7 separate regions of the Homo sapiens genome follow, and regions 1, 2, 3, 4, 5 and 6 are each linked to region 7. Evidence: promoter capture Hi-C in 16 types of primary human blood cells and fetal thymus (Javierre and others, 2016). All regions are on one chromosome and are shown on one strand. The core of a region is centred on a gene start or on the middle of the fragment in contact, and the rest is flanking DNA. Distances in the headings are between cores, read along the strand shown. Region 1 overlaps LOC105369957 (a long non-coding RNA gene). Region 2 has its middle 120 kb from the start of CASC18. Region 3 overlaps LOC105369958 (a long non-coding RNA gene). Region 4 has its middle 150 kb from the start of C12orf75. Region 5 has its middle 130 kb from the start of C12orf75. Region 6 overlaps LOC105369957 (a long non-coding RNA gene). Region 7 holds the start of NUAK1 (NUAK family kinase 1).

What was found. The method cuts DNA at HindIII sites, captures the fragments that hold promoters and counts their contacts. A CHiCAGO score of 5 or more calls a contact.
Region 1: a contact is called between a fragment that was not itself captured here and the fragment with the promoter of NUAK1 in region 7, in 15 of 17 cell types (M1 macrophages, total CD8 T cells, neutrophils and 12 more). The highest score is 12.7, in M1 macrophages.
Region 2: a fragment that was not itself captured here is called in contact with the fragment with the promoter of NUAK1 in region 7 in 1 of 17 cell types (endothelial precursors); the score reaches 6.9 in endothelial precursors.
Region 3: a fragment that was not itself captured here is called in contact with the fragment with the promoter of NUAK1 in region 7 in 1 of 17 cell types (endothelial precursors); the score reaches 5.9 in endothelial precursors.
Region 4: a fragment that was not itself captured here is called in contact with the fragment with the promoter of NUAK1 in region 7 in 1 of 17 cell types (endothelial precursors); the score reaches 9.9 in endothelial precursors.
Region 5: a contact is called between a fragment that was not itself captured here and the fragment with the promoter of NUAK1 in region 7, in 7 of 17 cell types (endothelial precursors, M2 macrophages, M0 macrophages and 4 more). The highest score is 10.1, in endothelial precursors.
Region 6: a contact is called between a fragment that was not itself captured here and the fragment with the promoter of NUAK1 in region 7, in 1 of 17 cell types (neutrophils). The highest score is 5.5, in neutrophils.

The regions. Positions count from the first base shown.
Region 1 is chr12:105,404,290-105,407,535 of GRCh38, forward strand. All of the region lies in intron 2 of LOC105369957 (a long non-coding RNA gene), which reads left to right. Among named protein-coding and RNA genes, the nearest start is that of C12orf75, 75 kb to the left of the region's middle. The HindIII fragment of the contact is 5,484 bases long and covers 1-3,246 here.
Region 2 is chr12:105,579,947-105,583,346 of GRCh38, forward strand. No RefSeq gene overlaps it. Among named protein-coding and RNA genes, the nearest start is that of CASC18, 120 kb to the right of the region's middle. The HindIII fragment of the contact is 5,427 bases long and covers 1-3,400 here.
Region 3 is chr12:105,502,601-105,505,566 of GRCh38, forward strand. All of the region lies in intron 1 of LOC105369958 (a long non-coding RNA gene), which reads left to right. Among named protein-coding and RNA genes, the nearest start is that of C12orf75, 170 kb to the left of the region's middle. RefSeq lists an enhancer at 1,731-2,025. The HindIII fragment of the contact is 3,450 bases long and covers 1-2,966 here.
Region 4 is chr12:105,480,629-105,483,973 of GRCh38, forward strand. No RefSeq gene overlaps it. Among named protein-coding and RNA genes, the nearest start is that of C12orf75, 150 kb to the left of the region's middle. The HindIII fragment of the contact is 1,642 bases long and covers 1,083-2,724 here.
Region 5 is chr12:105,463,394-105,466,538 of GRCh38, forward strand. No RefSeq gene overlaps it. Among named protein-coding and RNA genes, the nearest start is that of C12orf75, 130 kb to the left of the region's middle. The HindIII fragment of the contact is 7,273 bases long and covers 1-3,145 here.
Region 6 is chr12:105,382,645-105,386,059 of GRCh38, forward strand. The region is part of intron 1 of LOC105369957 (a long non-coding RNA gene); the gene reads left to right. Among named protein-coding and RNA genes, the nearest start is that of C12orf75, 54 kb to the left of the region's middle. The HindIII fragment of the contact is 8,197 bases long and covers 1-3,415 here.
Region 7 is chr12:106,137,228-106,140,379 of GRCh38, forward strand. It overlaps NUAK1 (NUAK family kinase 1), which reads right to left and starts at 1,727. Exons shown (of 7, transcript NM_014840.3): 1 at 1,187-1,727. The coding sequence starts at 1,426. RefSeq lists enhancers at 156-657, 3,049-3,152. The HindIII fragment of the contact is 5,150 bases long and covers 1-3,152 here.

The DNA.
Region 1 (3,246 bases), core at 301-2,800, 730 kb before region 7:
TACAAAGGACATGAACTCATCCTTTTTTATGGCCGCATAGTATTCCACGGTGTATATGTGCCACATTTTCTTTATCCACTTTATCATTGATGGGCATTTGGGTTGGTTCCAAGTCTTTGCTATTGTGAATAGCACAATGTCTGGCACATCAGATAATTCAACAAATGGTAGCTATGAATGCTATGATCATTTATAAAGATCATAATGCCTTCCACACCCAGGGCCAGTGCCATAATTGGGCTTCTTAATACCTGCCCTACCCAGCCCTGACTTCTGTGGGACAGGAGAGGAAGGAGCTCCATTTCTCTCTCTTCTGTCCTTCTCTTTCCCCTGTCCTTATCTCCACCTCTTTTACTAATGTGTCTCCCAGGGGAGGAAGGACATATCTCATGGGGGAGATTGAGATCAGGGGAAGTGACCATAGCCAGCATAGCCCCTTCTGAACTCAGGGGCAGGGTTTGTCCAAGCTATGTTGCCTTCACAGCTGCCTCCTCCATGGGGAAAGAGCCTAGAGCAGGATGAGCATCTGGAGGAGTTGCCAGGAGGGAAAAAGGCAATCTGCAGTTATACCTGACACTGGGTATACATATATTTATTTTTATTGTTTTTTTGAGTGATATGGCTTGGCTCTGTGTCCCCACCTAAATCTCATTTTGAATTATAGCTCCCGTAATTACCACGTGTTGTGGGAAGGACCTGGTGGGAGATAATTGAATCATGGGGGTGATTACCCCTATACTGTGCTCACGGTTGTGAATAACTCAGAAGAGATCTGATGGTTTTATAAGGGGAGACCCCTTTCACTTGGCTGTCATTCTCTCTCTTGCCTGCCGCCATGTAAGATGTGCCTTTCACCTTCTGCCATGATTGTGAGGCCTCCCAAGCCACGTGGAACTGTAAGTCCATTAAGCCTCTTTTTCTTTATAAATTACCCAGTCTCAGGTATGTCTTTACAGCAGTGTGAGAGCGGCCTAATACACTGAGAGAGGGTCTCATTCTGTCACCCAGGCTGGATTGCAGTGGCATGATCACAGCTCACAGCAGCCTTGACCTCTTGTGCTCAAGTGATCCCCCACGTCAGCCTCTTGAATAGCTGGAATACTGCAGGCACGTGCCACCACACCTGGCTAATTTTTTATTTATTATATATTTATATTTATTTTATTTTTTTGTAGAGACGAGGTCTTGCTGTGTTGCCCAGGCATGGGTGTGCATTTAATTCAGGGAGGAAGGAGTGGAGTCCTGCGTTTGGCTTCACCTCCAAGTTGTTTTCTCTAATCCTGCTGCTAGATGTGTCCTTATCCTCCTGCCTTAGCCTCCCAAAGCACTGGGATTACAGACGTGAGCCATCATGCCCAGCCAAGATGGAATACTTAAGAAAACCCAACAACTTGTTTTCTCCATGCTTCCAGGAGCCATCCTATCAGCATGTTTGCAGTGTCTCTCAGGGTCCCTGCCAGGGTATTAAATCCTATATTCAGAGAAAGTGCCCCCATAATGATACATTCTCTTTTATCCAGTGCTGTTTTCTAATTCTCACACCTTCCTCATTCCAGCACCCTTCGAATGCAGTCTCTTTTCTGATAAGACTTGGCAGGATTCTGTAGCTCCTACAGGGTAGAGTCCTTTTCCTCCTTATAAGGTTCAGCACCTCCACAGCTGGGTTGTGTTGCTGGGATGTGCACCTGGCTTAGAGGCCAGTGGGAAGTATGGGCAGATCACAGTGGTACACACGTTCTCTTACATGGGAGAGGCCTCGGCATCCCCTTCCAGGAGGAAACAGGGATGGAACTTAACAAGACGAGGCCATTTTGCAGGCCCAGGCATTCAGAGAAATCAGAGGATTCATGCTTTTTCAGAGGCATTAACCCAGCTGTCATCCCTCAAGGTCACATTGCTTTCCCAGCCAGGGTCCTGACCCTATCATAGCAAATCTACCTAAGGTTGAGAATTTAACCTCCTTTGCTACAGGAGATAAGAGTCTTTTTTTAAAATTTTTTTTAACCATGCTAAGGAGGCACTTGAGCTTTTGTGTTCAGTTTTTAATTGACTGGTAGTCACCCTCAGTCTTTTGTCATCTTTTTCCAAAGCAAACATTGTTCTCCAGTGACAGCCATTTAATTCCACTGCCCTTGTAATGACTATTTCCCATATATTTTTAACACCAAATACATTTTCCTTCCACCTGTATCCCATTCCATTTTAACACCATTGGAAGTTTTGCCAGTTTCATCACCATCTTGTGTCAGGGGCTTTATCAGCTCGGTGTACCAACGGTAACGGGGATCTCATTGCCTGTCAGTGGTCAGCTGGCAGCCTCAGATCCCATCTTAGCATCTTCTTTCTCAGACTACTCCTGGCATCATCTGTTCGGTTGATTCCCCAGGAAGCAGGTGCTGGACAGAGATTTGAGTGCATAGGTTCACCAGGAGGTGTGCTCAGCATGGACACCTGTGGTGGCAGGGCAGGAAGCGAGATCGAGAAGAGAGAGGTGTTGGATTGCAATTCAGTTTCATCTAAGGCCTCAGCTGACCCCTTTGGGAAGCTCTGAACCTTCAGACTTGTCCCAGGTTCGGGCAATGGCCTATGCCTTTATATTCCTGTATTGACTAGTGCAGTGGGCTGAATGTTCGTGTCTCTCCAAAAATTCATGCTGAAATCCTAACCCCCAAATGTGATGGAGATGGGGCCTTTGGGAAGTGATTAGGTCCTGAGGATGAAACCCTCATGAGTGGGATTAATGCCTTTATAAAAGGGACCCCAGAAATCTCTCTTGCTCTCTTTCTGGCACGTGAGGATAAAATGAGAAGATGACCAACTGCAACCCAGAGAGAACCTCCACCAGAACTCAATGGTGCTGGCACCCTGACCCTCAACTTCCAGCCTCCAGAACTGTGGGAAATGAGTTTCTGTTGTTCTTAGGCCACCCAGTCCATGGCACTTTGTTGTAGCAGCCCAAATGGACTAAGACAGCCACTTACCATTGTAGGCTGCCCTTGGGAAGGTGGAGTGTCCTTCAGTGAGGCAGCTTTCTTCAGGGAAAAAGAGGAATTTCTGGAGAGAGATAACAGTTGAGGGCTCTCAGCCGGCAAAAGTCTCAGCAGCAGAAGGAATGAGGAGAAAAAAATGGGCACAGTATTTTGTAGACCCACCTCTTAAGAAGCAGATTCTATTCTTCCATCTCTTGAATCTGGCTTGGCCTTGTAACTTGGTTTAGCCAGTGGGAGAGTAGCCAATATGATACAG
Region 2 (3,400 bases), core at 240-2,739, 560 kb before region 7:
ACACTTCTCCAGGTAGGGAAGGATGGAGGAAGAGAGGCCAAGTCTCCCTCCTCGAGATCTTTGATGGGTCAGCACCACCCATTAAAGAAAGATAGACGACTGGCTCTTGTTTACCAGCCAGGTGGCTCACTCTGTCTCCTCAGGGAGTGCTAAGAGGTTGGACAAGTGGCCCGGTGTGTTATTGCTCCCTCATCACAATGACTATCTAGAGTGGGGCAAACTTGTCCCTCGAATGTTCCCCGTGTTTTCATCATAGTCAACTCATAATCAGTGTGGGATGTGGCCGTCCCTTCAGGGGAGATCAGTCCTTTGTAAGGACAGCTCTGTCCTTGCTTCAAGAGGCTGCACTTTTCATTGAAACCTCTGTTCCTTCAGGCATTCTGTCTGGGCTGCTGGCAGGCAGGGTAGACTGTGCCCTCAGAGGGCTCTGAATTGAAGCAAGTCACACGTTAATAAAATCATCTCCAAGGACACCCTGTTCAAGGCTCAAAGTTATTCCATTTCCTACCTCTTAGCCCAAGTGATGTCTAGCTATGTTGCCTAATACAACCCCAAAGAGGTTCTGGTCCAGCCAAGGAACAGGCATGAGGAAGGGTGTCTGCCAGGACAGGCACTGCAGGAGAGCCTCAGAGGTCGGGGAAAGCTGGGGCTGTGAGGGGCTTTTGAAGGGGCTTTTCCAGAGGGGAGCTGCTCTTTCAGATTTGGAGCCTGCAACCTCCATTCAGGAGAGGAAGGAGGTTATGTATGAGGGCAAAACCTCTCTCTCTCCCCTTGCCTTCTTCCTAGCCTTACCCCATGCTCCTCTCTCTCTTCCTCACACTTCCTGAATTAATGACCCCACCAAGACTTTTTCCAGAGAAAAACAACCAAGCCAGAAATCACCTGGCCTCTCTGACAGCCTGGCCCATCCCTACACACTCACATCTCATGGTCTGCCACTCCCACATGTCACTAGGCCACTGAGAGACTTCCTGTTCATCCACTGTCAGACATGAGTTGTTAGCACTTCTTGGCAAAGGATCTTGACAATTGCCTTGACAATTGCCTTGGGAAGGAAAACAGCACCGTGGGTTAGTGGAAAGAATGTGGCTTTTGGAGCCAGGCGGACCTGGGCTCAATTCCCAGTTCTGCCACTTAATACCTGTGTGACCCTGGGCAAGTCACTTAACCTCTTTGAGTTTCAGTTTCCTCATCTATAAAATAAACACAAAGATGATAATAGTGAGCTTATGAAACTGCTTTGAAAGCCATTCAATGTGTGAAGTGTGCTTGCGAGACCCACGGGAGGTAGGCTTTAATAGTTTGGGAAGATTCCGTCATAGCCTAATTGCAGTTTTATGGGCCTCTTCCTTTTGATAAATAACAGGACTTATCTGAACACTCTGAAATTATAGACATCACAAAGTGTCTGCTCTGCACGAGGAAGCTCTTAAACAGCCTACACCGGGCTTTCTAATGAATTTGTCTTTCTTTTGCTCTGAGCCCATGCCCACTTCCTTCTTAGTGGTAGCTGCTCACTACAAACATTTTGAAAATGCTCTCTCACGGTGCTCTTTCAGGCATTCTTTTACTAGACTGGCTCTGGTTTGTCATGAATTGTATGTGTATTGAGATTGTCTGTATGTGGTGGTAGAATTGACAGTGTAAACACAGGACATAGGTCCGCAGGACACAGGAGGCTGGCTGGCCCATTGTCTTTGTGATCCTTGGTATGTGGGTCTATCCTGTAGGTGACTCAAAGCACCTTTGCGACTCAGTCTTACAGGCCGGGCACGGTGGCTTACTCCTGTAATCCCAGCACTTTGGGAGGCCAAGGTGGGTGGATCACTTGAGGTTGGGAGTTCGAGAACAGCCTGGCCAACATGGCAAAAGCCCATCTCTACTAAAAATACAAAAATTAGCAGGGTGTGGTAGTGGGCACCTGTATTCCCAGCTACTCGAGAGGCTGAGCAGAAGAATTGCTTGAGCCCGGGAAGTGAGCCTGGTTGCAGTGAGCCGAGATTGTGCTACTGCACTCCAGCCTGGGTGACAGAGTAAGGCTCCATCTCAAAAAACAAAGCAAAACAAAAAAAGTCTTCCAGACTTTGGAGGTTGGAGGGAGCTCAAGTCAGACCAGTCTTCCCATAAATCCTACTCTGAGGCCAGATGCATTAGAGAGAACATCTCAGTAGGTCATGTGGTTGCTTCCCTGGGGGTACCACTTAGGGTTATGGCATGCAAGGAACATACTGTAACAAGAAAATGCACGTATTGAAAAGATACTGAGTAGCTTCCAAAATTGATGGAAGACCAGAGAACCAGCTCAGGAAATGCATGTATCCCAGGGAGTTAGGCCACAGCTGAAGACCCCCAGCAGAAGGTGCTTGCTAGCAGGCTGCCACTATGTCACCACTGCTGCCACCACTGGACCCTCAGGCTTCTAGGAGTGAACTTGCTGCCATTTGAGTTAAAGTCCTAATTTCCTCTGTGTCATTGGATTGCTTGCTTAATCGCCACAGACTTGAGTTGGAATACCCTGTTGACTGTTCTTAGATTGTGTGCCCATGTTCAGCAACCAGGGAGCAGGGAGAGTCCTCTTTGGTTTTCATAGTCAGATCACCTAATAGGGAGTTCCTCCAAAAGCAGGAAGGTGTTCAAAAGATTAACATCGAATATACTAGAAAACTAGCAGCTTTAGTGTATTGTATTTTATTCCTTTATTTATTTTTAACATTGGTTAGTTTTATTTTATTTATTTATTTATTTTTGAGATGAAGTCTTGCTTTGTCGCCCAGGAGTGCAGTGGCATAATCTCAGCTCACCCCGATGGCTGAAGCGATCCTCCCACCTCAGCTTCCCAGTAGCTGGGACTACAGGTGCGCACCACCACATCTGACTAATTTTTGTATCTTTTTTGGTAGAGAGGGGGTTTCCCATGTTGCCTAGGCTTGTCTCAAACTCCTGGGCTCAAATAATTCCTCACCTTGGCCTCCGAAAGTGCTAGGATTATAGGGATGAGCTACCAGACTTGGCCAATTGATTGTCTTTTAAATATCATTTTGAGTCCAGAAGACAAAATATATAATTGAAATGTCCTGTTCACCCCTAAAACTTGGGTATAGCAGAAAAAGTACTGACTTGGACTCAACTTCTCTGACTGTCAATTTCTTCTGTGAAGTGGCAATTAGGACAGCGATTCTGCACAGCTCAGTCCAGGTTGTTGTGAATATCAAATGATATAGAAACACGGCAAACTGTTAAATGCTGAGTCAAAGGAGCTGATGGTATGACAGCATGGCTATTTTCCCCTGCTATCCGATAAACCACTGGCAAACAATAGCACTTACATTACAAGGGGTTCATTTTCCGGAATTTGGTGATGTGTGCAGGGACATGGAAAATCACATTCTGCAATTAAAAT
Region 3 (2,966 bases), core at 399-2,898, 630 kb before region 7:
AGCGCCCCCTTCCCAAAAGCTCGTTGCTGGAGAAGGCTCAGGGCTGGGGGAGAGTGCAGAGGGTGAGGCCGTGGGAGTGGCAGGAAATGGGAGCGAAAGAAAGGGACTTCACTCTCTCTCCATTCCCAGGGATTTAGATGCTTAGATGCCTTTCACACTCATCTCTGGAAATCCTAACACTCACTTAGGAGAGAAGACTGGAACCTGATTGTTACACCTGGGTGAGGTGTGAAGGCACAGGCTGAATGATGCCTTAGCAGATAAGAAGGTGAACCAAGGGGGTGGGAGGCTCCAGTGCTCTGGCTCAGTGTCTCCTTGTTTAGAATTATTTCTCTGAGACATGATATATAATCTCCAGGCTGTATTCATCTGTCAGCTTGAGATGAGGGAAAATGCTCATGTTTTATGTGCTGATTTAATTGTATCCTTCTCTGATGCCCTTGTTTGGGATGTGCTGGTTGAGAGGGGAGTGGCCTGCGCAGTGGCGTTTGCCAGGGAATTACTGTGTGCCAGGCACCAAGCACATCATTTTTGTGCATCGCCTTCTTTGCTTCTCATCACAGTTACTATGATTATGCCCAAGTGTGCCTAAGGAAAAGTGAGATATAGGGAGGCTAATGTCACATGGTACAAATGTGGCAAGGCCAAGATTTGAACCCAAGATTGTCTGATTCTGGAACTCACAGGCTGACCCACGGGTTTATGTAGGCTCATTCCAGTATAGAAGCAGCAGGTTGGTGCAGTACAGGAGTCAGCACCTTCTGTTTGATGGTGGCTCTGCCAAAGAGAGCTGTGGGATCATTGGTAAGGTTGTGATCACTCCAGGACTCATATTTTTCAACTGTAAGTTGATTGTTGGTCTAGATATTCTCCAAGGTACCATCTAGACAAGAGGGTTGGTGATTCTACGCTGATGTCTACAAACAAGAGCTGGAAGAAATGATGATCTTTTTTTTTTTTTTAAATGGACTTTGCTCTTAGAAGGAGGCATTGGCTTTGAGATTAGGACTCTAATCTCATTTAGGAGGCTAATTTTCAGCATGGAGTTGTACAGGTTTTGGGGCCTTTGGAACAGAGTTCAAATCCTGGCTCCACCATATGTTTTCTGCAAGTCACTCAATCTCTCTGATCTTTAGCTTCCTGGTTGGTAAGATGAGGACAATAAAACCTTCCCTACTGAGGATGCATGAATATCTCAGCTATATTCATTGTATTGTGTTCTCCTTGAGGGTGGGGTCATGCCTTATGTATTTCTGGCAGGCATGGGGTTGAGTTGAATTGATTTTAAGAGGGAATAAAAAGCAAGTTGCTCTCTATAGACAAACCAGGCGTGTCTCTCCTTTGTTCAATGTGCCAGGGGGCAGGGACTCATTTCCCAGCCCCAGTATCTCCCACTGGCCAGGTTTTTGTCCTGTCCTGAGATCTCCCATGCAGTTCCAGGGAACTGTCATTTTCCACTACACCAGCTGGATAATACTCAAGCAAAGGTGTATGGGCATATGGTGTCTCTGGCTTTGGGCATGGAAGAAGGATTTGTGATGGGCTAGTTTTTCTTCTTTGGCCTCCTTGCTTCTACCCATTCCCCCTTCCACATAGGCATGTACACACTGGCTTACCTAGGTGGGTTTTTATCTCTGGATTTCCCATGTTGAGATGTCGTTTTGGGAGACAGCCGGCTCTGAAGTCAGACACACCATGGTTGGATCCTGGCAATTCCTGACATGCCTCTATGAGCCTCGGTTTCCTCGACCATGAAAGGAGATAGTAATAGCACTTGCTTCCCTGGGCTGTTGTGAAGATTAAATGAAGTTCAGCACAAGGCAAGGACTCCATAAGTGATACCAGTTTTACTTTTGTTTTGGCTCCACTCTGCCTGTCCTTAGCGCCCCCTGGCCACTAAACACAGAGTGATGGGGAGAAAAGGAATCAGAGCCCTACACTTCCTTCGGCTGTGCCAGTTATTCCGGCCTATGCTGCTGAATTTGAAGCTAAACTCAGAAATCTGCACTCTGTAAACATATCTATGACTTTAACTAGAACCACTGGTGTTTCGGACCAGAAATGGACTTAGTGATCGTAGATTCTGATCTCCTCCATTTGGAGTTGGTGGAAAATGAGTGAGAGAACATCCCTGCTTCCCTGCCAAAACCAGTGGTTTAAATAAGGTACAAGTTTATTTTTTCATATAAACATTGGTAGCCTAGGGCTGAAATGATGGACCCATGATCAGCAATGAACGAAGGCTCTATCCATTTTGTTGCCCTGTCCTCCTTAATCCAAGAGTTCTACTTTGTGGTCCAGGGTGGCGGCTCTAGCTCCAGCCATCATAACTTCAGTCCAGCTCACAGGAAAGAGAAAAAGAAAAGAAATTGGAAGAAGCATTGCATTTAAGAATACATCATGAAAGTTACACAAGCCATATCATAAGTACATAAGGATTTACACACCTAAGGATGACACAAGTCATATCCTTTTATATTCTATTGGTTAGAACTTTGTTATATACATCCATAGTTAACAGCGAGGGAACTCAGGGAATGTAGTATTTATTCTGGTGGCTATGTGCCCAATCAAGATTTGGAGGTTCTATTATGGAGGAATGAAGGGAAAATGCATCTAAGGAGACCATCAAAAGGCTCTGCCACACAGGTGACACAACTGCTTTACCCCCTCAATCTGTGTTCTTTCTATAGCATTCGCAAGGTTTTTTTAAAAATTAAAAAAATGTTTTTTAAGATGAAGTCCTGTTATATATCGCCAAGTTGCTCTCCAACTCCTGGGCTCAAGCAATCCTCCTACTTCAACCTCCTGAGTACTGGGACTACAGGTGCGCTACTGTGCCCAGCTACTTTTATTCATTTTTTGTTTTTTTAGAGACAGGGTTTCACTATGTTGCCCAGGTTGGCCTTGAACTCCTGGCCTCAAGCATTCCTCCTCCCTCAGTCTCCCAAGTAGCTGCGACTACA
Region 4 (3,345 bases), core at 654-3,153, 660 kb before region 7:
CTTGGTTAAAAGGGAAGAAAAGGGCCCCATGGCAAGCTTGTTTGAACCTCAAAGTGTCACAATCACATAATAATACAGTTCTACCTGAGCTGGCATCATCAGAGTGCTAAGAGAGATAATCTGAAATGAAATGAGATGGATTATTCTAGAACAGAGGTTTCTAAAGTGTTTTCATGTTGATAGCTGAACACTTTTTTCCCCAAGTAATTTATAAGGAACTACAATATATACAAAGATCTCAGTTATAAAACTACTGTTTTAAGGATACATTTTGGATTTGAAGGCTACTTAAATTTGTGTAATTTAGTTGTATATGAAAGAACATCCCTAATTCTGCTTTGGTGGGAGTTGATCTGTAAGGCAGCCCAGGCATTCTTGTGCTGGTTTAAATACAAGGTGTTTGGCAGTGGAGGGCTCCTGACAGGGAAGGCAGCTAATTTTCCACCCACAAGCCTCATAGGGAGGACTTCATCTTTGTGTATTTACCACATTCTTCTATCTGTCCTTCGGATACCTGATTTATCAGTACAGCAGAAGTGGCTTCTCAGGGCTGACTCACATTAACTGTGCATAGGAGACTGATGTACAAACCAGCATCATATTTAAGGGATGTATTATACAAAGAGAACTAGAAGAGTTTTGGAACTGGAGAAATTACCTAGGGCACTGCGTTGGCATAGATACTCAAGTTTGTGGTCTAAGCAGGAGTTGGCAAACTGACCTGGGGGGCAAATATGGCCCACTACCTGTTTCTGTATGGCCTCTGAGCTAAGAATGGTTTATACATTTTCAGTGGCTGAAAAAAAAGTAAAGAATGCTGTTTTATAATATGTAAAAATCATAAGAAATTCAAATTTCAGTGTCCATAAATAAAGTTTTGTTAAAATAGAGCCATTCAAGTGAATAGACTCGTTCATTTACATCTTGCCTGTGGCTGTTTTCATGCTGCAACAGCAGCACTGAGTAGTTGGGACAGAGACCGTAAGGCCTGCTAAGCCTAAGATATTCATCTCTGACGCTTTATAGGAAAAAGTCTAGAGTCGTGATTCTTAAAATGCAATATGCATACAGATTTTCCAGAAAGCTTATGAAAAAGTAGATTCTGATTTGGTGGGTCGGGAGGAGGGGCCTGAAATTCCACATTTCTAACCAGCTCCCAGCTGATGCTACTGGTGTCTGAGTGGCAGGCATAGAACCGCTTTTCCACTGGGTGGCACTTGGATGGCCCAACTTCTTGCCCCTGTAGGGTAGATTTTGATCTGATCATCCTCTGCTCTTTACGTAGTCTTTCTCCAGACTGGGTACAACACACTAGCAAAAATTTCCACATGTTAAACTCTTTCAGTCTGCCTTCCTAAGGTCACATCCAATCTATCTGGATTAAAGAAGATTCTTGGCTTATTCCCATGTGTGGTTACCGCCTAGAAATCCACAGTGTCTGTACATTTCACTGGTTGAAGTCTCAGAGAAAAATCTGAAACCCATATTGTTTGGGGGAGCCTCATTGTTGACATCATGCCACAACCTACATTCCTAGATCCAGTGGGCATGGCTGGATGTTGCATTGAGAAATAAGACTCTTGGAATTCACAATTAGAAGGACATTTACTTTCTTTCTGAATAATATCTCTCAACAATCCTTTAAAAACTTTTCAGGGCCTAGCACCCAGGACCTGACACTCAGTAGATGAGATATTTAAGAAATGCATGACTAGACATCTAATAAATTCCCAGCATTCAGCATTATTCAACCTTCCTACGGCTTCAGCCGGAAGGACCAACTTGCCATTTCCCAAACTGGCCGTAGGTTTTCATATTTCTGTGTTTCCTCAATGAGTTTTCCTTTTATGGGAAGGCCCTTTCCTACCTTCTCTCCCTGGCAAATGACTTCTCCAAAAGGTAATTCGTTCAAATGGTGCGTTTTGCCAGAAGCCATTCCCATCTGCCCCAGGTGATGTTGTTAGCACTCCCCTGTGATTCTGTTGCTTTCCATTCCATGCATCCCAGATTAGGACCACTCACCCATATGACATCTTTGTTCAAATTAGGGAAAGTCACCCCTCCTATTTAGCTGACACAGTCCTACACCAAGGCCTTGGAGAGAGGAGTGTGTGAGAGTTGTTGGGGAGAGAGAAAGAAGATAGAAAGAGAAAAATGTTGAATAATAACCTAAAAGGATATAGGCCTTCAAGTTTAGAAAACATTTTAGCATGTATTAGTGTATTAGATCCTGAATGCATGGATGTGAAGATAGTAGTCCTGTTACTTATCAGGTATATCAGACAGGTTTTCGTTATTTTGTAGGTGGGAAACAGACTCAGAGAGGTTGTTTGACTAACTTATGGTCACACAGCTCATGGATCTTAGAGCTGAGTTATAAATCCAGCTCTCTTCCCTGATCCCTGTTTGTGACATGCATAGTTTGGCTTTCAGAGGAGAGTGTCATTCCTCTTTAAGGGATGATCGAGAGAGCTGCCCCAGGAGAGAGGAGGGACTTCCATGTGATTGTTGCATTAGCTCAGCTCTGAATGGTTTCTTCTGTTTAATAAACCTTGTTAATTTTACTACTGCTTGTTCTTGGCTCCACCACACAGCAGTGGTTTAGGCAATATGTTCAAAAAATGTGCTAATTACAGGCTGTAATTTTCTTCCATCCTAAAATAAATACTTAGCATTTTAGTACTTGGAGAGGGAAATAGTTTAGTGGAGCTAGAAGAGTCACGAAGCTTGGGGGCTGTTGGGAGGGGCTGAAGAACATGGAAGCAGAATGTGCAAGGATAGAAAAAAATAGAAGTTTTTGGAAGGCTGTGGTGTCTGGGGTCTATTTAGTGGGAGTGGTGTTATGTATGTGGGTGTGTGCAAGTTTGGGGGATACTTGGGGGATGCTGTGCAGAGAGAGGCAGAGGGAAGGGGGTGCTTGCTACCTGCTCACCAAACTCTGTTCCTTCTCTTCCGTGGTGCAATTCTGTCATTCAAGAAGTGTGTTTTGTTTTGTTTTGTTTTGTTTTGTTTTTTGAGCTGAGCATGGTAGCTTATGCCTGTAATCCCAACACTTTGGGAGGCTGAAGTAGGAAGATTGCTTGAGCTTGGAAGTTCAAGACCAGCTTGGGAAACACCAGGCTTTCAGCAAATGCTCCTTGAGTGTGTGAAGTACTGTATTGAGCAGCATAGAATTGGACACTGTTGACCATATCATTCTTTAGTTGATGAGATCTGGGCCCTCATAAGCCCTCATGTTTGGACAGTGCCTCCTGGTTTACAAAGAGCTTCCTTGAACATGATCTCAGTTCAGCATCACAATAACCCTCTGAGATGAAAAGGGGTAGGGAAAGAACAGGAAGGAAC
Region 5 (3,145 bases), core at 574-3,073, 670 kb before region 7:
GACCTTTCTCACCTGAGTAGATGCAACTGGGCTTCTTGACTGGCCTGGTGCACCCATCTGCCAGCTGCTTTGAATATTGGTTGCTAATAGCTCATTGCTGTACTATTTTCCAGAGAATCAGCCTTAGTTATGGAGGGTCCCAGAGGGGAAATGCCTGGAAAGTTATGCCCTCCAGGCATCTTTGCAGGGGCGGGCAGCAGCCCTTGACTGAATGCAATGGAATTACCAGGGCCTAGCCTTCTTCAAGGAGAGACATTTAACTGTGGGACTACTCACACTCAGAGCTCCATGTAAGATCAGGCTGACACTAGAATACAGTGGTTCCACATTTTGTTTTTTTGTTTGTTTTGAGACAGGGTCTTACTCTGTCACCCAGCCTGGAGTGCAGTGGTACAATCTCAGCTCACTGCAGCCTTGACCACCTGAGCTTAAGTAATCCTCCCACCTTAACATCCAGAGTAGCTGGGGCTACATGCATACATGCATGCGCCACCAGGCCTGGCTAATTGTTTAAATTTTTTGTAGAGGGGGAGTTTCACCATGTTGCCCAGACTGGTCTTGAACTCATGTACTCAAGCTCGATCAGCCTGCCGTGGCCTCTCAAAGTTCTGGGATTATAGGCATGAGCTACTGCGACTGGCCACTTCCTCATCTTTGTTTTTCATTTGTCCTTTCAACTTTTCTTCAGTCACCTACAGGACTCTTCTATGATCACTCCATTGATAAATCGTACAAGAATCTCCATCTCAGGCTTTCCTTTTAGGAAATCTGCCCCTTAAGACTACATTTCTTCAAGGTTCAGCTCTGGTGGTATCTCCCCAAGACAGCCCAGCCAGGGTGGTACTAAGTACCCTTCTCTGAGTTCTCACATCCTCTCAAACAGACCCTCTAGCTTGTCGCCCACATGTCATATTGAAATAGTTTGTTAATATGCCTTTTTCCCGCCACCAGATTGTGAGAGGCTTCAAGATCCTCTTTTTTTCTGACTGTACTTTGGCCCTGAGACAAGTGATTGTAACATAGTAGGTGCTTAAGGAGAGAATCACATAGAGACTTTATTTGGATTAGGGGTTAACAAAAGTTTTTCTGAAGGAGTAGCGTTTAAAAGATGAACTTTGCCAAGAAGACAGGCACCATCTGGATCAGTCTGCATGTTTTTTTTATCCCTCCTTTCAGAGTCTGGCTGGCGCTAGGTATTTATTACAGAGATAGATTGGCAAAGATATTTGACAGATGGAGAGATGGGCTTTGGATGTGTCTGTTCTCCTGTGGTTGGGCCTAAACAGCTTTCTGTATTAGTTAGGATTAGAGACAGCTGCATGTGGAAGAAAAGACAGTGGTTAAAACACAAGGATTTTTCAAAAAATTTAAATTTTTCTTGTAAAAGAAATGCAGAGGTACGTAGCCCAGGACCAGCATGGTGGTTTCATGGTCATCAAAGATCCAACAACTTTCTTTCTACACCATCATCCATATTGTATAACTTTCATGCTCAAGGTCACTTCATGGGCTAGGATGGCTACTGGGACTCTGATGGTCACATGTGCATTCCTACTTGGAAGAAGCATGAAAAACCGAAGAGCAGTCGGATTTATGCTCTATGTGAATCAGCTTCTTTAATGGATTCTTTCTGGAAATCCAACACATTGGCTAACATTGGCCAGTACTTAGTCTGATAGGAGGATGGGTAAACTAACAATTGGGAATCTCTTGCTTCCTCCCTCCGAAGGGAGAATGGACATTTGGAAGGCAACTGGCAGTCTCTTCCATTCCTTTCATCCCAGGTTTTCTAGGAGAATCCCATTTCAACATTCTGGCTCATAATCTTCACAAGCCATCTAAATATCCCAGAAGGTTCTCTACTTCCAAGTAATATCTCTTAGACTGCCTCTCCTGATAAAATTCCTTTTCCTATGCATGTCTCTATATTTTGGTTTTCATCACAGAACAGCCTCTAATACTTGACCTTCATCAAACAGACGACATAGACAAGAAGGTGTTTGATGCATTTAAGAAGGACCAAGGAGTTAAACTAGACACCACCTTTGCAATGAATGGCTTGGTGGCCACGGACAAATTTTGCTCCTTGGGCATATTATTCTTTTACAGCTGAGTCAATAACACACCTGGAGCATGGGAAGAAACAACTGATGCTCTTCCTGGGAAGTTTCTGGGAAGAGGAAGGACCACTTTGAGGAACGACAGAGCTTTGTGAGGTGGTGGAAGCAAAGAATGCTGTCCCAGAACAAGGGATAAATGCTGTGATGCTGAGAAATGCCTTGCACTCTGCTGTTAGTTGTGTAAATTGCCAGCATTATACAAAGGTTTCATGACTCTTTGGCTTACATATTCCCCACAATCTGGTTCCCATGTGGGTTTCCAGCCCCTGGTCCCACCCCTCCTCTCCTGGACTCCACACTCGACCAGTCTTCAGGATGTGCTGTCCCTGTGCCCACACTTTGCTTTCTTCCTTCTGAGCTTTTCCTCATGCTGTTTCCTCTACCAGGTAAACTGATTGGTCCCATTACCATAAGCCCAGATCCCATAATGCAGTTTATGAGCATGGCTGCTTTAGGTCAGATAGCGCATGGCTGCTGTTTCCAAGTAGAAAGGCCCCCCTGTTAGGCTGGGCTCGATTTCAGACCTGGGTCTACCTAAACCCTGCTAAGAGGATCTCTCAGAGGTCAAGCAGAGCCTGAGCCATTTCCATGTTTTGAAGCCTCTAGTTTATTGAAAAGGAAGAAATGCCCAAATATTGGTGGAATTAAATGTTTATATAAATTCACATTGGTTGGCAGTGGCTCCGTATATTTTATGTATAAACACAGATGGAGGTAATGGCAAAAATCTAAACTTGGGGCATTTTGTGATAGTGAGGTTTGGGCCAAAGGACCCTCTTGTTGGTCCTGTCTTTCTTCCCTTTTACTTGGATTCTGTGAATTGGTCTTTCTGAATTATCTCATTCAGCATGGTTCTTTTGGCAGCAGATCAAACCTTCTCATCCCGTACCTCTGCCCTGGAATTTCCCAACTGGCCAATCAAGACTTCCTGTTCAGCCACCCTCCACAGTCCCCACAGATTCCCATCTTTTTCAAAGCTAATTAAGAAGTGACATTTTTTGAGTACTTTCTATGTGCCAAGGCAT
Region 6 (3,415 bases), core at 892-3,391, 750 kb before region 7:
GAGGCTTTTGTAATCAGAAGTATATAAGCCCCCTTCCCCCAAAGAAAATGATTATTCTACTGCCCGTCTTGACTGTATTCTTACTTGGGGGCAGGGTGGGTGGCGTGAACAGGGAGAGCTAATCTCTCCTTCTTTCTGACTCATTCCACAGTCAATCCTTTTTCTTATTATTTTCCAAAGGCATGAGGACCTTCCATGTTCCGAAACCATTGTCCAGAGTATTTCTTCTGGACTATTTTCCACTTCCTTCCATCTGACCGGCCAGCTGTTCTGCATTTGTAAAAGCTGGTTTCTGATGTCATCTCTAGGCAGGACCGCTCCCTCCCTCTCCTGCACTCCTATACTTCGTGGCATATCCGCCCCAAGATAACACTTGTCACTCTGTTTTCCAAATTCAGTTTCATTCATTTGCTTCACATGTGCACTGAGCCCACTGACTTCTTTCCCTGTCTGTTGCCAGCACTGGAGACCAAGCCTGCACGCTTTGGCCCAGACCATCTCATTCACCTTTTAACACAGAATCAGGGTGAGTGGAGAGTGGGGGAGTGGTGTGGTGGGTCTTTGCCTCTCGCTGTTCAGTGAACTTCATGCCTGTCCTCCTGATCCCCAGCGCTAACACAGGGTCAGGCTCGCGGGAGTGAACAACCACCATTTATCTCCGGCTTGTTGGGGGAAGCCCTTTCATTTACTTGACAGTTTACCTGTCAATTTTACGTGCGTGGTCATTTTTAATCCTCTGCACTTTCAGGTAATAGGAAAATAATTTGAATCAAGTTCTTCCTTCACCATTGGCGTAAAATCGGTGATTAAACTTTTAATATTTAACGTCTTAAAAAAAATTCCCCGGGCTAGCGTCATGCCTAAGTAATGCATGCATCTACTTCCCCCTGGTGGACTCATCTTCTAATAGCAGCTTTGTTTTCCCCCCTTTATTATTGGCAGGAGTAATCCATCTCTCACTTTCCTTAACACAGATATTCATGGATTGCAGGATTCAGCAGTGTCTTCATAATAGCAGGAAGTTTATGTTCTGGCTTTGCCACTTACTAGCTGTGTAACTTGGGCAATTTACTTAACTTCTCTGCGTCTCGGTTTCTTAACCTGTAAAATGGAGACAGTATCAATAATAAAATATTAAAAACGAATACATATCAAGTGCTTACTACATGGCATGTATGAACTCATTAAATTTCTACAAAAATCCTATTACATAAGATTTAAAATGTCCTGGCCGGGCACGGTGGCTCACGCCTGTAATCCCAGCACTTTGGGAGGCCGAGGCAGGCGGATCACGAGGTCAGGAGATCGAGACCATCCTGGCTAACATGGTGAAACCCCATCTCTACTAAAAAATACAAAAAATTAGCCGGACGTGGTGGCGGACGCCTGTAGTCCCAGCTAATCGGGAGGCTGAGGCAGGAGAATGGCATGAACCCGGGAGGCAGAGCTTGCAGTGAGCCGAGATCGCGCCACTGCACTCCAGCCTGGGCGACAAAGCAAGACTCTGTCTCAAAAAAAAAAAAAAAAAAATTTAAAATGTCCTATAAAATGGGAACAAATAGCCTGAGCAACATGGTGAAACCCCATCTCCAAAAAATACAAAAACATTAGCCAGGCATGGTGGCGCACGCCTGTAGTCCCAGCTACTTGGGAGGCTGAGATGGGAGTCCAGGGAGGTCAAGGCTGCAGCGAGCTGTGATCGTGCCACTGCACTCCAGCCTGCTGGACAGAGTGAGACCCTGTCTCAGGAAATAAATAAATAAATAAATAAATAAATAAATAAATAAATAAATTAAAATAAAATGGAAACAAATATTCTTTCCATTTTACAAATAAGAGAATCAAGAACTAGAGAAAAATAGTTCCTACTTCTTAGAGAAGTGTGAGAATCACATGAATTAATGCAGGGAGGATGGTTAGAGAGGGCCTGGCACATAGCGAGTGTCCCCTAACCTCATCGTCATTGTTAGTGTTACAGGATTGGTTCTGTGATGAAGACATTGCCATGGGCCATGTGGATCCTTGTTTACACTTGAGCTACTCTCATTTTCAACAGGCATCAATCACTTGCATGACAAAATATACACTATATCAAACAATGAGCTATGCTTATGTATTCATAGTTTTCTAGACACTTCTTAAGTCAGGGCATAAGTCTTCATTTCTCCAGAGGCTAATGGAAGGTCAGCCCATAGCCCATTTCACTCTTGAGTGTACTGGGGAGATCCTGGGAGAGGGGAAGGAAGAGTAAATGGGCAGATTGAGTATTTATATTAGGATGCAGCTGTCTAGAGGTAACCAGGGTCCCCATATATCTTCCCCACATTTTCCCAGGTCTGAGCATGAGCAGTGGGGATGAGGAACTGGGCTGGCACCCACAGCTATCCATGTAGCTTATTAAGCTGCTCATTTCCTCATGCATCTACGCCCTGAGCCCCTAAGTGTCTTGCACTGTTTGAAGTGCTGGCCTCTTGCTCAGCACTTCCATACAAAGTCCATCATGCTGCTGGATGCCAACAGAAATGAAAGAATCAGGGACACAGATGAAGACGAGAGCATGACCAATGTGTGGATTTTCTTGTAGACAAATTCTTTACATTTGCTATGGTCTGAATGCTTGTGTGCTCCCCGCCACCCCAATTCATGTGTTGAAATCCTAACCACGAACTCGATGGTATTCAGAGGTGGGGCCTTTGGGAAGTGATTAGGTCATAGGGATTCAGGCCCTTAGGAAAGAGGCCTGAAGGAGCTTGGTCATCCCTTCTACCAAGTGAGGACACAGCAAGAAGTTGTCCTCTGTGAACCCGGAAAGGGGCCCTCACCAGACATTGAATCTGCCAGTTCCTTGATCTTGAACTTCTCAGGCTCCAGGACTGTGAGAAATATGTTTTTTTGTTATTTGTAAGCCACCCAGTCTATGATACTGTGTTATAGCAGCCTGCAAGGACTAGGACAACATTGCATTTAAAAAAATAAAGTATACGTATTGTGTTAAGAAATGCAATAGGCTGGGTGTGGTGGCTCACGCCTGTAATCTCAACACTCTGGGAAGCTGAGGCAGGTGGGTCGCCTAGGAATTTGAGACCAGCCTTGGCAACATGGCGAAAAATTAGCCGGGTCTGGTGGTGTGCACCTGTAGTCCTAGCTACCAGGGAGGCTGAAGCGAGAGGATCTTCTGAGTCTGGGAGGTTGAGGCTGCAGTGAGCCAAGATTGGACCATTGCACTGCAGCCTGGGGGACAGAGTGAGACCCTCTCTCAAACAAACAAACAAACTCCAAAAAAGCAAAAAAAACAAAAACAAAAACAAAAAAACCCCCAAACCAATAAAAAGAAATGCAATAGTGTGAATATTTTTGAACTCTCACAACTTGATTAAAAGGCTAATCATGCAAAATAAAATATTGAACTTCTAAC
Region 7 (3,152 bases), core at 477-2,976:
AAATGCAAAAGAAACATGTCAATACTAAGCTGCTATTTTATTTGACAGCTCATTTTCCTTTTTCCCTGCAGTCATTTGTTGTTTATAAGCAAACCTGAGCCTCCAAAACACCCCCAAAAGTGCACACAAGGAGTCCCATAATCAGTTTCTGACTTTGGCCCTAAATCGATTAGAATACATCTGATCTGCTTCAAATCAAAGAACCATGTTAATTTTCTGCCACACACCACACAAAATCTTTCTGCAACAGTCAGTCACTTTGAACCCAACTCTCTAGCCACAAGCAGTGTGGATTTCAAGGGCCTGTTCTGCAGAAGTGAAAATAACAACAAACCAAGGCTGGGACAAGGCAGACAGACCCCAAGGCACTCAAAGCACTCCTTGGAGCTGTGCAAATGGTGCCAGGACCCTGGCAGGGTGTCAGCTGTCACAAGAGCAGCGGGGCCAGACCCCTTCAGCGGTTTGGTAGCCCTGCAACCAGGAGCTGAAACACAACTGAGCCTGCTGCAACTAAGCACAGCTATCTCTGTAGCTACCCATGCCCTGGACATTTCGGTCCTCCCAAAGCCATGATGCAAACTGTTAGAATCCTCAGGCTTGCAGTAGTCTTTATTTTTGCTCCCTAACCTTGTCTCAAAAACAGGCAAGAGTCGCCCTCCCTTGCAGTCACAGCAGTATCAGGGCGATGCAGAGTCTGAGTGGGAGGATGCAGAGCAAGGAGCTGCGGGCAGATGGGTGGAAGGGGGTAGGGACACCTACAAAACACCGGACTTGAGGGGCTAGCTCCTAGCTGGGAATGTGGTTCTTTGGAGAGTTGTGGAAATAAGACGTTTCGGGGCATGGTCTAAATGAGTGCCTGCGAGGGAGAGAGACCCCGGCCGTCCCAACGCTGCAAAGTGTTTGCAAATCTAAAACATTCCTTTGCTGCTAGGATTAAATTTTTAAAAACAAACCAAAAAATAAAATAAAATATGTGCAGACAGGATGTAACAAGTGTTTCAGGACAGAGACACGCCTGAGTCACGGGGTGCTGGAGAAAGAGTGAGGAGTCTGTCTCGGGGCTTCCCAATGAGCCCCCTCTCTGTCAAGAGAGCCCCAGGGCGCACAGACCCCCGCCTCGCACGCCCTCAGTCCCCGGCCGCGTCCACCCAGCGCCCCCCGCACCCTCCAGGATTGCCCCACTCACCACTCGGCCAGAAAACCTCTCGGTGGCCCGCTTGACTTTGCCGTAGGTGCCTTTGCCCAGGGTCTCCTGCAGCTCGTAGCGGTGCTTCAAGTTGTGCTTGTGGTGATGCCGCTTCACCCCGTGCGGCTTCCTGGGCTCCAGGGCTGCAGTCGCCCCCGCCACCGCCTCTCGGGGAGAGCCCGGCGCCCCCAGCCCCAAGTCGGGGCGGTCCCCCGCCACAGGCGCGGCGGCCCCTTCCATGTCCAAGCGCGGGGCGAGCCGGGCTACAGAGGGCAAGACCGGGCACAGCGCTGGGATGTCGGGGTCCCCACCGAGGGAAGCCGCTGTACGCTCAAGGTCGCCCCCGCAGCATCAGGGAGGCGGCCCGATACCGCTCGGACTGCGGCTCGGTCACTGGCGGCGGCGGGGACTGCACATCTGGCGCCCGCGGCGCGCACGGTCCGCGCACCGCCCCCCGGCCGCGGCGAGCTGTGGAGCGTCGGGCGAGGTGGCGGCGGTGGCAGGGGAGGCGGTGGTGTTTGCAGGAGGGAGGGGAGAGGGTGGCTCGCAGCGCAGGAGGGGGAGTGTTATGTGGGGCGCCGCGCCCCCCAACCCCTCCCCGGGAGGACGCGCAGACGGGGCGGGGGCGGCGCTCGCGCGGCCCCAGGGGAGGGGGAGCGAGGGGCGGTGCAGCCAGGGCTTCCCCCACCTCCCTGCAGCCACCCGGGGCCGGGGCCGCCGTGAGCTGGGAGGGGGATGGGAGCGTGTCGCGACTCGCCCTTTGTGCGGCGCGGCGTAGGCCACGGCGGCGGCGGCGGCGGCGGCCAGGAGTGCTTTGTCCTCGCTGGGCCGGAAGGGACCGGGAAATTCCAAGCCGGGCGCCCCCTCCCCGGGCGCTCTCGGGCTCGCCAGTCGCAGCTACCGCGGGCCCTCCGCCGCCTCGGGCTCCGGGGCCGGTCGCTCGGCCTGGATTCCTGCTGGCGCCGGGGCGGCGGTTGCGGCTGGCCGAGCCCCGGGGCCGGGGAAGAAAGAGCGCCGCGAGCCGGGGGCCGCCGGGACCTGCTCGCGATACGGCCGGGGCCGCCGCGGGCCTGGGCGCCCCTTCATTTTCTTGTAGGTGTCGCCGCAGCCTGGCGGCCGGAGCTGGGGGAGGGGGCAGGGAGGCCTGGTGTTCGGTTACAGGCGGTGACTCACGGACCTTGCCCGCCCGAGGCTGGCACCCCGCGGGGCAGAGCTGCGCCCGCCTGGGGCAACTCCGAGTCCAGGAGAACCCCAAGAGCGGCGCTTTGGCCCCGGCCCCCGCGCCCTCTCCGAAGAAAGGAGAGTCAGGGACGGAGGGAGGCCGGGAGGCTGAACCCCGGGCCCGCCGTCGAACCGCCGGCCCTCCGACACCATCTGGACCCCGGCGGGGACAGCCGCCTGGAAGGGGAGGAAGGCCAGGGACGTGGAAGAGATGGGGCTCTAAAGGCGCCGGGACGGAGCTGGCTCCCCAGAGGCGCCCACCCTGCCAGCGAAGGCCGCCATCGGAGGTGGGCAAACCAGGGACCTGGGGTGGACCAGGACCCCGGGCCTGCTGAGCAACCCGTTTGCTGAGCAGGAGGCGATTTGCAGGCCTCTTGCCTCCTTAGGCCTTGGGAGATTTCCTTTCACTGAAAGGGCCAGATCCTGGCGATGGTGACAGGAACGGTACCCCGCACGGTAAGGGTCAGGCAGGAAGGGCCTCCCACCGCGGCGTGGCTGCCGCCGTTCTAAGAAGAGACCATGAAAAATAAGGAAGAAGGCTAGAGAAAAAGAGGTCTTAGGGAAATTTTTTTTTTTAACAAGTGGTGCAATGTACCAGACTAGGGTGGGAAGAGTGAAGGCTGAAGAAGGTCTGGTGTTCTGCAGATCGCATGGCGGTTCTTTTCCACCAGTGGACCTCACTGGGGCCTCCTCTGCAGCTCTCAGGTGCAGCCCTTCCTCTACATTCCCGCCGCCTTCATTCCTG